5 separate regions of the Homo sapiens genome follow, and all the other regions are linked to region 3. The links are contacts of gene promoters, found by promoter capture Hi-C in human tissues and cell types (Jung and others, 2019). All regions are on one chromosome and are shown on one strand. Each heading gives the region's core, a stretch centred on a gene start or on the middle of the fragment in contact. The rest is flanking DNA. Distances are from core to core; before and after follow the strand shown.

What was found. Contacts are between HindIII fragments. The study calls those that stand out against the background at their distance.
Region 1: the fragment with the promoter of ENHO here is called in contact with the fragment with the promoter of UBE2R2 in region 3 in 2 of the 25 tissues and cell types used here (dorsolateral prefrontal cortex and lymphoblastoid cells).
Region 2: a contact is called between the fragment with the promoter of ARID3C here and the fragment with the promoter of UBE2R2 in region 3, in 1 of the 25 tissues and cell types used here (lymphoblastoid cells).
Region 4: the fragment with the promoter of FAM219A here is called in contact with the fragment with the promoter of UBE2R2 in region 3 in 1 of the 25 tissues and cell types used here (dorsolateral prefrontal cortex).
Region 5: a contact is called between the fragment with the promoter of GALT here and the fragment with the promoter of UBE2R2 in region 3, in 1 of the 25 tissues and cell types used here (dorsolateral prefrontal cortex).

The regions. Positions count from the first base shown.
Region 1 is chr9:34,521,642-34,524,341 of GRCh38, forward strand. It overlaps ENHO (energy homeostasis associated), which reads right to left and starts at 1,349. Exons shown (of 2, transcript NM_198573.3): 1 at 1,136-1,349; 2 at 1-215. The coding sequence starts at 54. RefSeq lists an enhancer at 93-645 and silencers at 1,275-1,384, 1,405-1,774. The HindIII fragment of the contact is 6,325 bases long and covers 1-2,700 here.
Region 2 is chr9:34,627,682-34,630,381 of GRCh38, forward strand. It overlaps ARID3C (AT-rich interaction domain 3C), which reads right to left and starts at 1,385. Exons shown (of 8, transcript NM_001017363.4): 1 at 1,236-1,385; 2 at 16-405. The coding sequence starts at 333. RefSeq lists silencers at 1,194-1,293, 1,344-1,503. The HindIII fragment of the contact is 10,650 bases long and covers 1-2,700 here.
Region 3 is chr9:33,815,734-33,818,433 of GRCh38, forward strand. It overlaps UBE2R2 (ubiquitin conjugating enzyme E2 R2), which reads left to right and starts at 1,427. Exons shown (of 5, transcript NM_017811.4): 1 at 1,427-2,201. The coding sequence starts at 2,025. The region is part of intron 1 of UBE2R2-AS1 (UBE2R2 antisense RNA 1); the gene reads right to left. RefSeq lists an enhancer at 937-1,026 and silencers at 1,317-1,416, 1,597-1,806, 1,877-2,046. The HindIII fragment of the contact is 14,786 bases long and covers 1-2,700 here.
Region 4 is chr9:34,457,205-34,459,904 of GRCh38, forward strand. FAM219A (family with sequence similarity 219 member A) reads right to left here and starts at 1,366. Exons shown (of 6, transcript NM_001184940.2): 1 at 1,000-1,366. The coding sequence starts at 1,059. It overlaps DNAI1 (dynein axonemal intermediate chain 1), which reads left to right and starts at 1,601. Exons shown (of 20, transcript NM_012144.4): 1 at 1,601-1,849. The coding sequence starts at 1,802. RefSeq lists enhancers at 1-32, 1,164-1,704, 1,267-1,561, 1,658-1,727 and a silencer at 1,038-1,287. The HindIII fragment of the contact is 10,660 bases long and covers 1-2,700 here.
Region 5 is chr9:34,645,225-34,647,924 of GRCh38, forward strand. It overlaps GALT (galactose-1-phosphate uridylyltransferase), which reads left to right and starts at 1,451. Exons shown (of 11, transcript NM_000155.4): 1 at 1,451-1,562; 2 at 1,865-2,034; 3 at 2,268-2,343; 4 at 2,433-2,481; 5 at 2,608-2,700. The coding sequence starts at 1,481. RefSeq lists enhancers at 1,196-1,305, 1,876-2,055. The HindIII fragment of the contact is 1,689 bases long and covers 198-1,886 here.

The sequences.
Region 1 (2,700 bases), core at 99-2,598, 710 kb after region 3:
GAGACCGTTGCAGACGATGGCGATGAGGGCCCCCTGGGAGATGGCTGCCCCCATGACAGGCAGCACCCTCAGACCAGCACAGACAGTGGAGCTGCCTCAATGGTGAGGCCCATGCCGAGGCAGGACTCTGGTATGGCCGGCCTTCAGAGGAGGCTGTGCTGTCTGCACGCTCAGTGATTCCTGGGCAGTGGAGATGTCTACCTGCAGTCCTGAGCCTGTTGGGGGTATACAGTAAAGGAGAGGGTGGTGAGGAGGAAGGGTGGGGTGAGGCCTAGGAGGAGAGAGGTAGGGAAGAGAGCCTCCCTCCCACATTTCTGGCCTCCCTGGTGAAAGACCTTGGGTCCCAACAGGCTCGAATACCCCACAGAGCCATCACCCCCATCCACAGGCTTGGTTCTGGCCACCTGAATGAGTGTGTAGCCACCGTGGGGAAGCTGCAGTAGGCAGCCGTCATCTCATTCTCCTTAGACCTGGTGGGCATGCCCTGGTCCTGCCCACCAAGCTTGCAGCCCTCAAAAGCCCTCTGTTGGTGGGTGGGATCCAGGAAGCCCCCAGCCCAAAAGGATGGGGGTTGTAAGCAGCTCTGGTGTGGCCTGGGCGCCTCCTCTCTCCCAGGACTCCAGCCAGCCCGACCAGGAGACCTCCAGAGGCGCCAGCTTGCACAGAGGGAACTTTGTGGAGGCCCTGGCAGGCATGTGCAGGCTCTGTGCGTCCAGGGCTGTGTGCCTCTATGTGGGGCTGCCTCTCTGGGTCAGGTGTGTGTGTGTGTCTGGTGTCTCACTGTCCCTCCGTTGGATGTGTGCCTGTGCCTCTGCACACCCACCTCTGTGTGTGTGGCTGCCTCTCCGTGTGTCCCCATCTCTGAGTATGTCTCCTCTATGTCTCATTTCTCTACCAGTGTGTCTCTGTGTATCTCTGCATCAGTCTCTGTGTCTCTCTCTCTCTTCCAGGCTGTATCCCCCTCTGTTCCCATGGACGTGTCCCTATCCCCTTCTCCGTGGGGTCTTTTCGGTGGTTCCTGTGTCTCTGTCTTTGTGTTCGTCTCTCTCCGCGGCAGTGTGTCTCTGTCTCTTTATCTCCATCTTCGGGTCGCGTGTTCTTGGCCCCCGTGCCCGTGGCGGGAGGCCCTTCTTACCTGAGTTGAGCCTGGTGCGCGCCCGCGGGAGGGTCCGGGGCAGCGGGATGCTCGGCGCCGACTAAGGCTTGGGAGCCTGCGGGCGGGGGGCGGCGGGAGGTGGGAGACCAGCAGAGGCGACGTCCGCTCCCCCGGCCCTCCCCCTCGGCCGCGCAGCCTCCACCGGCCGCTCCCGCCGCGGCGCGACCGGGGCGGCCTCTGCCGCGGGCGGTCTGCGGTGAGCGGGCACCTCCTCCCCTTGGGGCCGCACCTCCTCCGCGGCCGCGGCGCTCGCTCGCTCGGCAGCGCTCGGGCGGCGGCGGCGGGAGCTGCGCGGTGTTCGGCTGGGCTCGGCTGCGTTCGGTTGGGCTCGGCTGGGCTCGGCTACGTTCGGCTGGGCTCGGCCGGGCTCGGCGGCCAGCAAAAACAGCGAAGAGCCTCGCCTCCTGGGAGGCCGGCGGCCTGCGGCCCGGGGGCGGAGCCATCCCAGCGCCGCTGCCGCCACTCAATTGGCTGGCCGAACCCCGGTTCCCGCACCATTGGTGGTGCGCTGAGGTGGGGACCAGCCCGCCTCTCGTGCCGGCGCGGGGCGGGAGGAGGGCCGAAGGAGTAGCTGGCCCTGGATCCTTCCCGGGAGAGGGGATGGGGTGGGGGCAAGGCCTAACCTCTGGTAGGGATTTCTTGCACCTTCTACACCTGGAAGGGTTGTACACCCCACATCCGAGAAAGGCCAAGGCCTCTGCATTTCCACATGTGAGGAAACCACCCCTCTGTATCTGGGAGAGGTCTCTTAAGTAAGTCATCCGGAGGAAGGCCCCGCGTCCCCACACCTGGCAGGAGACTGAATCTCCTCACCTAGGGAACCGCCTATAGTGCAGTCCCGCACTTCCCTCTGCCACCTGGGTGTGGACTCTGCATTCCCACTTTAGAGGGCCCCAGGTTCCCTGGCCCTAAGAGGTGTGAAAATCTCTGGCAACACAGGTTCTTTGGACACATTTACTGAGTTCCTACCCAGTGTTGGTCGCAGGCTTGCTGCCAGGCTGTTGGGGAGTCTGGGACAGAAATGGAGTGTCCTGAGCGATGGTTCTGCCCTGGCTGGAATAGGTGCAGGCGTGGTGGAAATCCTGCCTTGCCATCCTAAAAGCTCCCCTAAGAAGAAGATAGCTTGGACAGGAGCAGTGAGGTAGACCTTGTCCTCCCCGACCTTCACAGGCCAGTGATTGTCACCTATTCTGATCCGGCCGTCTTCTCATCCCGCTCTACATGCTCTCCTTGGAGGATCACATCCCTGAAGCTATATCATGAAGACTCCCAGTGCTCCCAAGTCTAGCCTTAACTTCTCTCTGGAATCCTAGACTCATATAACTAAGTGCCTACTGTAATCGGGGCAGTATTGATTCCTGGTTCACTTACTAACTTTGTGATCTTGAGCAAGTTACTAAATCTCTCTTAGCCTCAGCTTCCTCATCTGTAAAATGGTTGTAATGCTACCTCTCAGGGTTGTTATTCACTAATTTATAGCAGATCGATCACATCTCAGCAAATGCCAGCTGACACAACCCCCAGGACCATGTGACTAAGAGGCC
Region 2 (2,700 bases), core at 135-2,634, 810 kb after region 3:
GGGCATAGGTCCTACCTGCTTGAATTGTTCCTCGTAGGTCCACTCGTGGGGATGGAGTCCAGGGGGCTGGCTAGAAGGCGAGCTGGGGCCCTGGGCCCCTGGACGGCTCTCCTCAGCTGCCTCCTCCTCTGCCCCGGCTTCCTCCCGCTTCTCCTCATCTTCTTCAGCATCTTCCTCTTCCTCAGCCCCAACATTCCCCAAGGCCCCCTCAGGGGCCTGTAGGGTCCGGTGGTCAGGCAGGGGAGGCTGCGGTGGCAGCAGCGGGCATGCAGGGGCCAATGGCCCCACCCCCTGGGCCAGCCGAGCTGCCTGCTGCTTCTGCAGGGCCTCCATGACAGCTTCCAGGCGCAGTCCCCCAGCTGAGGGGGTCCCTGGTACCAGGCGGGACCCCGAGGAAAGGGCCGCCTGTGGGGGAGGGAATTATGGGTGCTGGGCCCTACTGCCCCCAGAGCCCCCCAACACAGGGGGAGGTGGTCATGGATTCAGGGAAGTGCAGGGGTCACAAGGAAAGAGGCAGAAAGATGGCTTTCCCAGAGGTGAACAGAAACAGGACCAGACCCGGGGAATCAAATGGCCATTGACTGAGGACTGGAAGAGTGAGCAGATCAGAGAGGGTGACGGGGACCAAGAGACATCGGGAAATGGTGAAGGAAGGGAGAGAGAAAGAAAAGGAGAAGGGGGATGTCCGACAGAGACAATGACAGGGAGATGTGAAAATAGAGATGGAACAGGGTGACAAGGAGAGACAGAAGTGGGGTGACACAGAGACTGAGAGGGACCAAGATGGAGAGAGGCAGAGGTATCAGGCAGAGACAGGGTAGACAGACAGAGATGGAGAGAGATAGAATATTGGGTAGAGAGACAGGGAGGGTAAGAGAGGTAGAGGAGCAACAGATAAAAGACCTAAGTGACAGGTAGCTCAGAGACGGACAGAGACGGAGAGACAGAGGCGGAGATAGACAAATAGACAGGGGTTGAGATATAGGGAAAGACCAAGACAGCAGGAAACGGACAGAAGAGAGAGATTAGAAAGAGACAGTTAAATAGAGAGGGACCGACAGAGACAGGGACGGGAAAAACAGCCGGAGAGAGGGGCAGAGGACAGGGACCAAGGAGTCGCGGGGATGGAGGGCGGTGGGGCAGAGCCTGGGACGGGCACGGGACCGGACGGGCAGGAGGCGGCAGAGTCGCGACGCCCGGCTCCCTCGCTCCGGGCGCCCCGCGGCCGCACTCACCTGCCTGGCGTGGCCCGCTGCCCCTGGCGTCTCCACGGCGCTGCCTTTGCTCCGCCCGCCTCCCAGGCGGCCCTGGCCTCGGCTGGGTCCCGGCGGTGCGCTCCCGCCGCCCTGTGCTCCTCTGGCGGCTGTGCGCTCACTCGCCGCGCTGCTTGCGGCGGCCGCGGGGGCGGGACCCGAGCGGGGCAGGGCGGGCGGGGCGCATGGGGAGAGGCCCCTGTGGGATCTGCCGCTCTCAGCTCCCCAACAGGTGTCTCCCACCTTCTTTCCAGCCAGCTTCGGGGGCAGGGGGCGCTGGAAAGCTGCGGGGGAATCGTGCGAAAATGAGGGCTCTACCGCCACCGGACTCCGGACCAGAGCCCCGCCCAGCCTCACAAGTCGTGCCCCCGACACCCACACTCGGCACTGGGCTTCCACATACAAATAGCCGCATCCACACACCAACACACCTTGTCACAAGTTCAGGCGCATAGCTTCCCAGTCTCACACGTTCCGTGACATGGTCACCACAGTGCCAATGGCCTGGGCACGCTGTGATCAAGAGGGGAATCCCTCTGCAAGATGCTGGGGTGTGCGTGGAGGGTCTGGTCAGAATAGAAGCTTCTCCCTTTGCCTTGAGCACCCCTGCCCTGCCTACGTGCTGTCCCCCACTGCGGGCATGCTGCGGTTTGCACACATGAGTGCACATGGTGGTGGACCCACACCTATGCACTCACACACTCTCAGAGGTCTTTAAGCTGACTGCACACTCACCGCATGCAGATACACAGCCACACACAGTTTTTGTCTCTTTTGACATTCTATTATGGAAATTTTCTTTTCTTTTCTTTTTCTTTCTTTTCTTTTTTTTCTTTTTTGGAGACAGAGTCTCTGTCACCCAGGCTGGAGTGCAGTGGCGCGATCTGGGCTCACTGCAGCCTCCGCCTCCCAGGTTCAAGTGATTCTACTGCCTCAGCCTCCCGAATAGCTGGAATTAGCTGGGATTACAGGCGTCCACCACCAGACCCGGCTAATTTTTGTCTTTTTAGTAGAGATGGGGTTTCACCATTTTGGCTAGGCTGGTCTCGAACTCCTGACCTCAAGTGATCCACCCACCCTGGCCACCCACAGTGCTGGGATTACAGGCATGAGCTACCGTACCCAGCCTGTATTATGAAAATTTTGAAACATAGACAAGTGAATAGTATAATGAACCTCTGGTACTCATCATAGGTTTGTTTCAACAGTGACCGGCACTTCGCCCATGTTCACACACATTCTCCACCTATGTGTGCCTGACTGCCACATCTGTATCTCCAGACCCCCTCAGCCCACTGCTTTGCGCCCTCCCCCTAACTATTCCCAAGACGCTGAAATGCTGTTCCTTATTTGGGGGTTCTGAGTGGCAGGCCTCTCAGAATTTCTGCTCTGAACAGCCTGGACCCCACTCCTCCCGGGAATCCTCATACTTCCTATTTCTTCCTGT
Region 3 (2,700 bases), core at 177-2,676:
ACCCTGTCTCAATAAAAGGGGTGGGTAGTGGTGGTATCCAGAATACAGCTATGCCTTAAAGTTTTTTTCTTTCAAGTTTCTATGAATCATTAACCATGTGCCAGTCACTACGCTAAATGCTGTACATACATTTAATCATTACAATTGCTTGTGTTGGGTATAATTAATCCCCTTTTACAGAAGCTGATTAAACAGCCGGGTGTGGAGGCATGCACCTGTAGTCCTAGCTACTTGGGAGGCTGAGGTGGGAGAATCGCTTGAACCTGGGAGGCGGAGGTTGCAGTGGGCCATGATCGCGCCACTGTGCTACAGCCTGGGTGACAGAGCAAGACCCTGTCTCAAACAAAACAAAACCAAAAAACAAAAAACTGATGATACAGGGAGAAGTAATGGAACTAGGGTTGGAACCAAGATCTGTCTAGTTCCGAAACTGTGTGTGTAGAACTCTCACAATATTCTGGCTTTTCTAGGAAATGTTTTTTAGGCAGTTATCCTAGGACATGCCTTCCTAGGAGAAAGGAGTACTGTATTCTGAACCACGGGGGGACCAAAGACTGTCCCCACATCTCACTTCGGTTATGATTATCTCGAAAGTCCCTCAGTTCCAGGGTGGACATTCAAGCCACAAGCACCTATAGGGAACTTTGACCCCTAAGTTCAACCACAGTAGTTTATTTTACAAATGGCGAAGGCGAAGGGCAGCCTGAGCACTTGCCCCAAATCACAATGAGAAGGGCTAGAGACCCAGTTTGTTATTGTCTTTTTCCTCACAACTTCCTCTTTGTAGTTAAGAAGGGAAGCAGAAGCTGACCTTTTTGTCTCACCCCGTTTCTCACGTGGAACTGCCGCACCCAGGGTGAGTAACGTGCCAAAGGGCACACTTGCCTGTGGGCTGGCCTGCGGGAAGGTCTGTTCCCACCGAAAAGACCCACATTGTCAGCACATCCTAATCAAGTAGCTACTAAGTGGAGGGACCGCAGACTGGGTGTCACGGGGAGGGGCCTGCAGCGACCAGGCCCGTCCCAGGATGGCTGCGGAGGCCCCTGGATCCACAGTGGGGAGGGCCCCGAGAGCCGGGAGACCTGGGTTCCCTTCCCGGGCACGCCTTTGGAACTGCGGCGTCCAGCCGCACAACCGTCACTCTGGGGCCACGGCAATCCCTGCGCCCGCCCTTGGTCCCCGCTGCTTCTGGGATCTTTATGGGCGGGGGACACGCGCCAGCGTCACAAAGCGCCGCGACCGCGCGGGAGACCGAGAGGAGGCGTGGAAACGGGAGGAGGAGGAGGTGGTAGTGGAGGAGAGCCAGGCACGGTGGGGGGAGGGGAGGGAGGGGCACGCGCACGCGCGTCGGGCCGCCAGCCGCTGAGAGCCGCCCAGCACCCGGCGTGCGCCCCTCCTCCCTCTCTCCCTCCCTCCCTCCCTCCCTGCTTCTCGGCTCCGTTGCTCCCGCGGCGCGAGGCGCTCTCGCTCTCCTCCTCCTCCGCCGTCGCCCCTCCCCCCGCGCAGCCCCCGCCGCCACCGCCGCGAGACCCCCGCACGCCGCTCTCCCCCCACCCTCTCCTGCCCCGCGCGCCCTCCGGCCCCTGCGGCCCCCGAAGAGAACGAGAGGGCGAGCGAGCGCGGCGTTCCCGGGCCGGCCCGGCCCCCTCCCTTCACCATCGCCGGCCCTCCGCCGCCTTCCTCCGCTTCCACCTCCTCTCCCCCCCCCCAAGTTGAGGCCCCCTCCGGGGGGGGGAGGCCCGGGACCGGGACCCGTAGCGAATTCTCCTAACTCCCTCGACCTCTCCTCTCGCCCGGCCCGAGTGTGAGGAGAAGGGCCCGGCCCGGCCTGCGTCGTGTGTGAGGAGGACCCCGGGCGGGCCCACGGGCCGTGTGGGGCCTGGTCTGGCCCGCCGGGTGTGTGAAGACCGGGGCCCGGTGCTGCCCGGCCGGAGGGCGAGCGGAGGGGAGGGGCCTGGTCCGGCCCGGCCGGTGCGTGAGGACTGGGGCCCGGGCCCGGCGCCGCCGCCGCCGCCGCCGCCGCGATGGCCCAGCAGCAGATGACCAGCTCGCAGAAGGCCCTGATGCTCGAGCTGAAATCCCTGCAGGAGGAACCGGTGGAGGGCTTCCGGATCACCCTGGTGGACGAGTCCGACCTCTACAACTGGGAGGTGGCCATCTTCGGACCCCCCAACACCCTCTACGAAGGCGGCTACTTCAAGGTACCCTCACCCTCCTCCCGGACCCTGCTTCCGCGGCCGAGGCCTCCGGCTCCCCGCCGCTTTCTGCAGTTCCTGGGACCAGGAGTATGAGCACGGGCGAGTGGAGGGGGCTTCTCACCCGTGCAGCCCCCTCCCCCATCCCTGGAGGCAGGAAGGCCTTGCTCGCCGAGTGCCTTTTCTTTGTCATGGGGGCGGGGGCTCGGGCGGGGGCGGGAGGGCAGGCTGCACCGGGAAATCGGAGAGCCTCTCTGGTTAGGGTAGTGTCTACGGGCGGAGGAGGCCGCCTTTGTTTCCCCCGCTGAGGGTGGGTGGAAAGAGCGGTGGTCTATCTGTGCTTTTTCGTTCTCCGGTCGGAACCCCTCCCTGCGCAGGCTGGAACTGCCCCAGAGGGCAGGGTGACCTGCACCGACTGGATTGGACTTTTCTTTTTTGGGGGGTGGGGGTGGGGGTGGGGTGGGGGAGGGGCACCAGCTTGTCATTTCAGAAGCTGCCGAGTGCC
Region 4 (2,700 bases), core at 116-2,615, 640 kb after region 3:
CATTCCCTCTCTTCCCCCCTCACTATACGAGCTGGCTAGGCCTCCACGTCTCCCACCCGGTTGCCTGACAGACAAGCGAGGTCAGGGAGCCCCCTGGGCGGTGGCCAGCAAGCATGGTCTCCCTTAGGCCTAGCCTCGGTGCACCCGAGTTGCCCTCCCCCTTCCATTCCCTCCGCGCCAGCAGCGATGACATCATTCCTCCCTGACTCCGGGACCGCGGACAGGCGGCAGGATCCGCGCCCAGCAAGGACTTCAGGCACGTAGGCCTAAGATGATGGGGGCTCTTCCCAACCAGTGCGCACAGGCAGCTCCAGCGCGACCCCACTTCCTCTCCCGTCGGTTCCCGAGCACTCTCATCTGCACCCCGATTCCCCATCTGGTCGCCGCGCACTCTCCTTCCCGGTTTAGATGCCCCCAGCCTGGTCTGCCTGCGCTCCCCACCGGAGAACGGAATTCCCAGGTTCTGCACCAACCACCTTCCCCCACTGGGTCCCTCGCCCCGGCCCAGCGTTCCTGTCCGTATATCCAGCGGACAGGCGGGCAAGCCCCTCCTCTTCTAAAAGCTGATTCCCAATCTCTCTTAGCCTGACGGCTCCCCCGCCCTAAGCATCACAGGCCTCTAGGACTAAACGCCTCCCCACCTCCCATCCCAGACCCCTGGGCCTGCCGCCGGCGGTGCCCCATGGCAGTTCCCTCGCCAGTCCCTGCTATGGGCCTCCACTAGCGGTGTGCACCTTTGTGCCCCCTCCGTTCCATCCGACGGTGCCCTGCTTCCACCGACGGTGCCCTCCGCCCTTACAGGTCCCTTTGCTCTCATCCAGCATATTCTCCCACGGTTTTCTTGTCCTGCAAGTCCCCGTCCCCCGGCAATACGTTTTCAGGGATCTCTTTGCCCCATCCGATGGCGCCCCTCCGCACGATCCCCCCGGCCTGATTCCCTCCCTCCCCCTCAAGCGACGCCCCCTCCGGCCTTGGCCTGCCCGCCGCCCGCCCCCTCACCAGCGGCTGCATCTCCGAGTGCGCGGTGGGCACCTGGAACCGGTCGATCTCCTCCATCATGGTGCCGGCGGGCGAGCGGGCCAGGGGCCGGGCGCGGCCGCGGACGCCGACAGGACCGCGCGGGGCGGCGGCCCCAGGAGCCCGGCGGGTGGTGCAGACTAGGCCTCCCCGGACCACTCGGGCGGGCAGGGGCCGGGCGGATGCAGGGGTGGGCGGGGGCGAGAGGTTCGCAGACTGGCTGAGGCCGGCGTGACTCCGTGGGCTTGCCTAGCACTACCGCGGCTGTGGCCGGGCCGAGCCGCAGGTCTTGCCTCGCCTCCTACTCCGCTGCCGCCTCCTGTCAGCAGCTCAGCCACTGCGGTGACTCGGCAACTCCACTTCCGGGTCCGGGACACCGCCCGGATCTTGCATTATTCATGAGGAGGCGGTGCCTGGGGACCCCAGCCCCACCCACATGCGGGAGTTCCGAATGCGCGCGGCCGCCCAGCTGTGATTCCTGAGGGGGCGGGGCTTAGTGGAGACTCGCTCGCCGCGCGCCCAACCCCGCCTCCTTTCCGGGCCGGCTGGGCGCGCCGAAGCGCCTGCGCCTTGGCTGCTGGTCGGTTGCTGGGTAACCGCGTCAGGGAGTTGGATTCTATCCTGCAAGGGCACGGGGACCCACAACGACGGCTGTCCCTAAAGAACCGTTGCGACTGGTAACTGAAGTGGAAGAGAGTCCAGATTTCTTGTGTGTGGTCAAGGAGACGGACAAACTTTTTGTCTTCAGACGAGGGAGCGTTTTGTAGGCTCTCCAGGGGTTGAGATGATTCCTGCTTCTGCGAAGGCTCCCCATAAACAGCCTCATAAGCAGGTAACGTACGCACACCTTCCTTCTGATGACCTCTGACCTTCGTCGTCGCCAGTGACCACTAATCATACCTCTCCTACTGATCCTTGATCTTTTCTCTGTTGACCCCAGCCTTCTCACCCCCGTGACCTCTGGTAAGTGCTCCCACTGACCTCTGACTCTGTCCTACTCTTTCCCACTAATCCCGGCCTCCTCTCCCATACTACCCCAATCCACCGTTTCTTACCTCTCTCCTTTTATCCACCATTCCCATCTCTTCACTTCACTTTACCCCATGGACTCATTCTGACCAGTCTATTCTCCTTAACTTCCCCATCCCCATTCCCACGAGTCCCTTCCTCCTTGTTCTCACATTCTTGTCCCAAAGGAATTTTTCTTTTTCTTTTTCTTTCTTTCTTTCTTTTTTTTTTTTTGAGACAGAGGCTCGCCCTGTAGCCCAGGCTAGAATGCAGTGGCGCCATCTCAGCTCTCTGTAACCTCTGCCTCCTGGGTGCAAGCGATTCTCCCACTTCAGCCTGACGAATAGCTGGAACCAAAGGCATAGGCCACCACGCCCGGCTAAATTTTGTGTTTTTGGTAGAGACGGGGTTTCCCCATGTTGCCCAGGCCCGTCTCTAACTCCTGAGCTCAAGCGATCCTCCTACCTTGACCTTCCGAAGTGCTGGGATTACAGGCGTGAGCCACGGCGCCCAGCCTCAAAGGCATTCTTTATCCAACCCTTTGCTGTGTGCCTAGCTCCAGGCTAGGTGGGAACACAGCTCTTGCTGTTTGGGAGCCCACAGAGGGTGTGCAAGAGAACTAAACAGAATACAGGACAGGCTATGTGCAGGAGTGTGATTTTATTTTCTGTGCTG
Region 5 (2,700 bases), core at 201-2,700, 830 kb after region 3:
CTTTAAAAGTACTGGGGGCCAGCTGTTTGGGAGGCTGAGGCAGGAGGATCACTTGAAGTCAGGAGTTCAAGACCAGCCTGGCCAACATGTGAAACCCCGTCTCTACTAAAAATACATAAATTAGCCCAGTGTGGTGGCACACAGCTCTAATTCCAGCTACTTGGAGGCTGAGGCAGGAGAATCGCTTGAACCTGGGAGGTGGAGGTTGCAGTGAGCCAAGATCACGCCACTGCACTCCAGCCTGGGTGGCAGAGTGAGACTCTCTCTCAAACAAACAAACAAACAAAAGTACCAGGGGAGGAATTAATTTGAATTTTATCCTAGTGTTAGCCAATTGGTCCCATCCAAGGAAAATTTAGAAAAGGGAAGGGGATGTGTAAAGGAAACACTAGGCCCCACCTAGATGGTGGCTGGAGCTTCTGATAGTCCTGTACTCTCCACATTTTTAGACTTTCTTGTACTTTTTTTTTTTTTTTTGTGACGGAGTCTGCTCTGTCGCCAGGCTAGAGTGCATGGGCACAATCTCGGCTCACTGCAACCTCTGCCTCCTGGGTTCAAGTGATTCTCCTGCCTCAGCCTCCCGAGTAGGTGGGACTACAGGTGCACGCCACCAAGACCAGCTAATTTTTTTTTTTTTTTTTTTTACTAGAGACGGGGTTTCACCATGTTGGCCAGGATGGTCTCAATTTCTTGACCTTGTGATCCGCCTGCCTTGGTCTCCCAAAGTGTTGGGATTACAGGCGTGAGCCACCGAGCCCGGCCATTTTTAGATTTTTTTTTATAGCCCTTTTACCCCTCCCACTTCTTGTGCTGTCTTGGTGTGTGTATGAAAAAGAGAGAGAGAGAGAGAGGAAGGAGAGCAAGAGTGAGAGAAAAAGAGAATATGGTTACTTAGCCCTTTTTCCCAAATCTGTTTTTGCTTTTGGGGATAGGATATGGTTATGGTGAAGTACTCCACACAGACCCCACCAAGTTTGCCTCTCCTGCGCTACAGCCACTGAGCAGGTGACTGAGGCGCTGTTGATCCAGGGTCATATCCTTACTCGCCCTAGAATGTAAGCTCAGGCAGGGCAGAGGCCATGCCTGACATGTGCATCCCAATGCTTTACACAGCCTAGGTGCCTAGCACATGCTAGATGCTTGGTAAATATTTGCTGAATGAAAGATCAAATGAATGATTGCAGCAAGCAAGTCCTGTAGGCATCCTGGAGCCCAAGGATTCTGCAGTAGGCAGCTTTCACAGAGGTTCTTCCAGTGTAGTGGCTCTAGCTCTGGGTGAAGTAGGATCATCAATGTCGGCCCCCAGGGTTCACAGCTGTTCTGAGCCCCGCCCCCAGGTGGCAGGGCAGCCCAGTCAGTCAGTCACGTGCTGGCGGCTGGCCAATCATCGGGGGCGGCGCGGGGAGGGGTGGTGTGGACGGAGAAAGTGAAAGGTGAGGCACGGCCCTGCAGATTTTCCAGCGGATCCCCCGGTGGCCTCATGTCGCGCAGTGGAACCGATCCTCAGCAACGCCAGCAGGCGTCAGAGGCGGACGCCGCAGCAGCAACCTTCCGGGCAAACGGTAACTGCACCGCGGCAGGGACTCGCTGGGGCGCGGAGCCGAGCCCTCCCCTTCCTTAGGAAGCTTTCGTCCCCTCCGAAGGTTGGAACGCTCATCCCGAGCCAGACCGACAAGGCGTACAGTCTGCAGGCCTGTACGAGCAGCAGGCCAATTGGCGCTGGGAAAGTCCAATCCTGGGCCTCTAGCTCCTGAGCGGGACAGGGCCGAGAGGGCGCTCCCGAGCTTGGGCCTGCTGGTGGGTGAGACCCAGGAGAGAGGGAGCTAGAGAGCTCTGAGGACTGATCTTGACTGTCTGCCCCCAGACCATCAGCATATCCGCTACAACCCGCTGCAGGATGAGTGGGTGCTGGTGTCAGCTCACCGCATGAAGCGGCCCTGGCAGGGTCAAGTGGAGCCCCAGCTTCTGAAGACAGTGCCCCGCCATGACCCTCTCAACCCTCTGTGTCCTGGGGCCATCCGAGCCAACGGAGAGGTAAGCCTGTAGAGCCCTGCATCTGCAGGCTGGGCCACGGGGAGTAGTTCCCTCTTAGAACTGTCCTCCACCCACAGGGATAGTGAACCTCCTTCTGGGTCATATCCCACCAAGCTTTTTGGTCCCCTAGGGTGGGCCTTCCCTACTCCCTTGTAGCCTGTCCAGTCTTTGAAGCCCACCAGGTAACTGGTGGTATGGGGCAGTGAGTGCTTCTAGCCTATCCTTGTCGGTAGGTGAATCCCCAGTACGATAGCACCTTCCTGTTTGACAACGACTTCCCAGCTCTGCAGCCTGATGCCCCCAGTCCAGGTAACCTGGCTCCAACTGCTGCTGGGGAGGAGGGTGGCTAGACCTCTTGAGGGACTTCTGCTGCAGAGAGTGATACTCCTTTACCTCAGGACCCAGTGATCATCCCCTTTTCCAAGCAAAGTCTGCTCGAGGAGTCTGGTAACTATGGATTTCCCCTCTTACAACTTTCAAACCAGAGTTGGAGACTCAGCATTGGGGTTCGGCCCTGCCCGTAGCACAGCCAAGCCCTACCTCTCGGTTATCTTTTCTCCCGTCACCACCCAGTAAGGTCATGTGCTTCCACCCCTGGTCGGATGTAACGCTGCCACTCATGTCGGTCCCTGAGATCCGGGCTGTTGTTGATGCATGGGCCTCAGT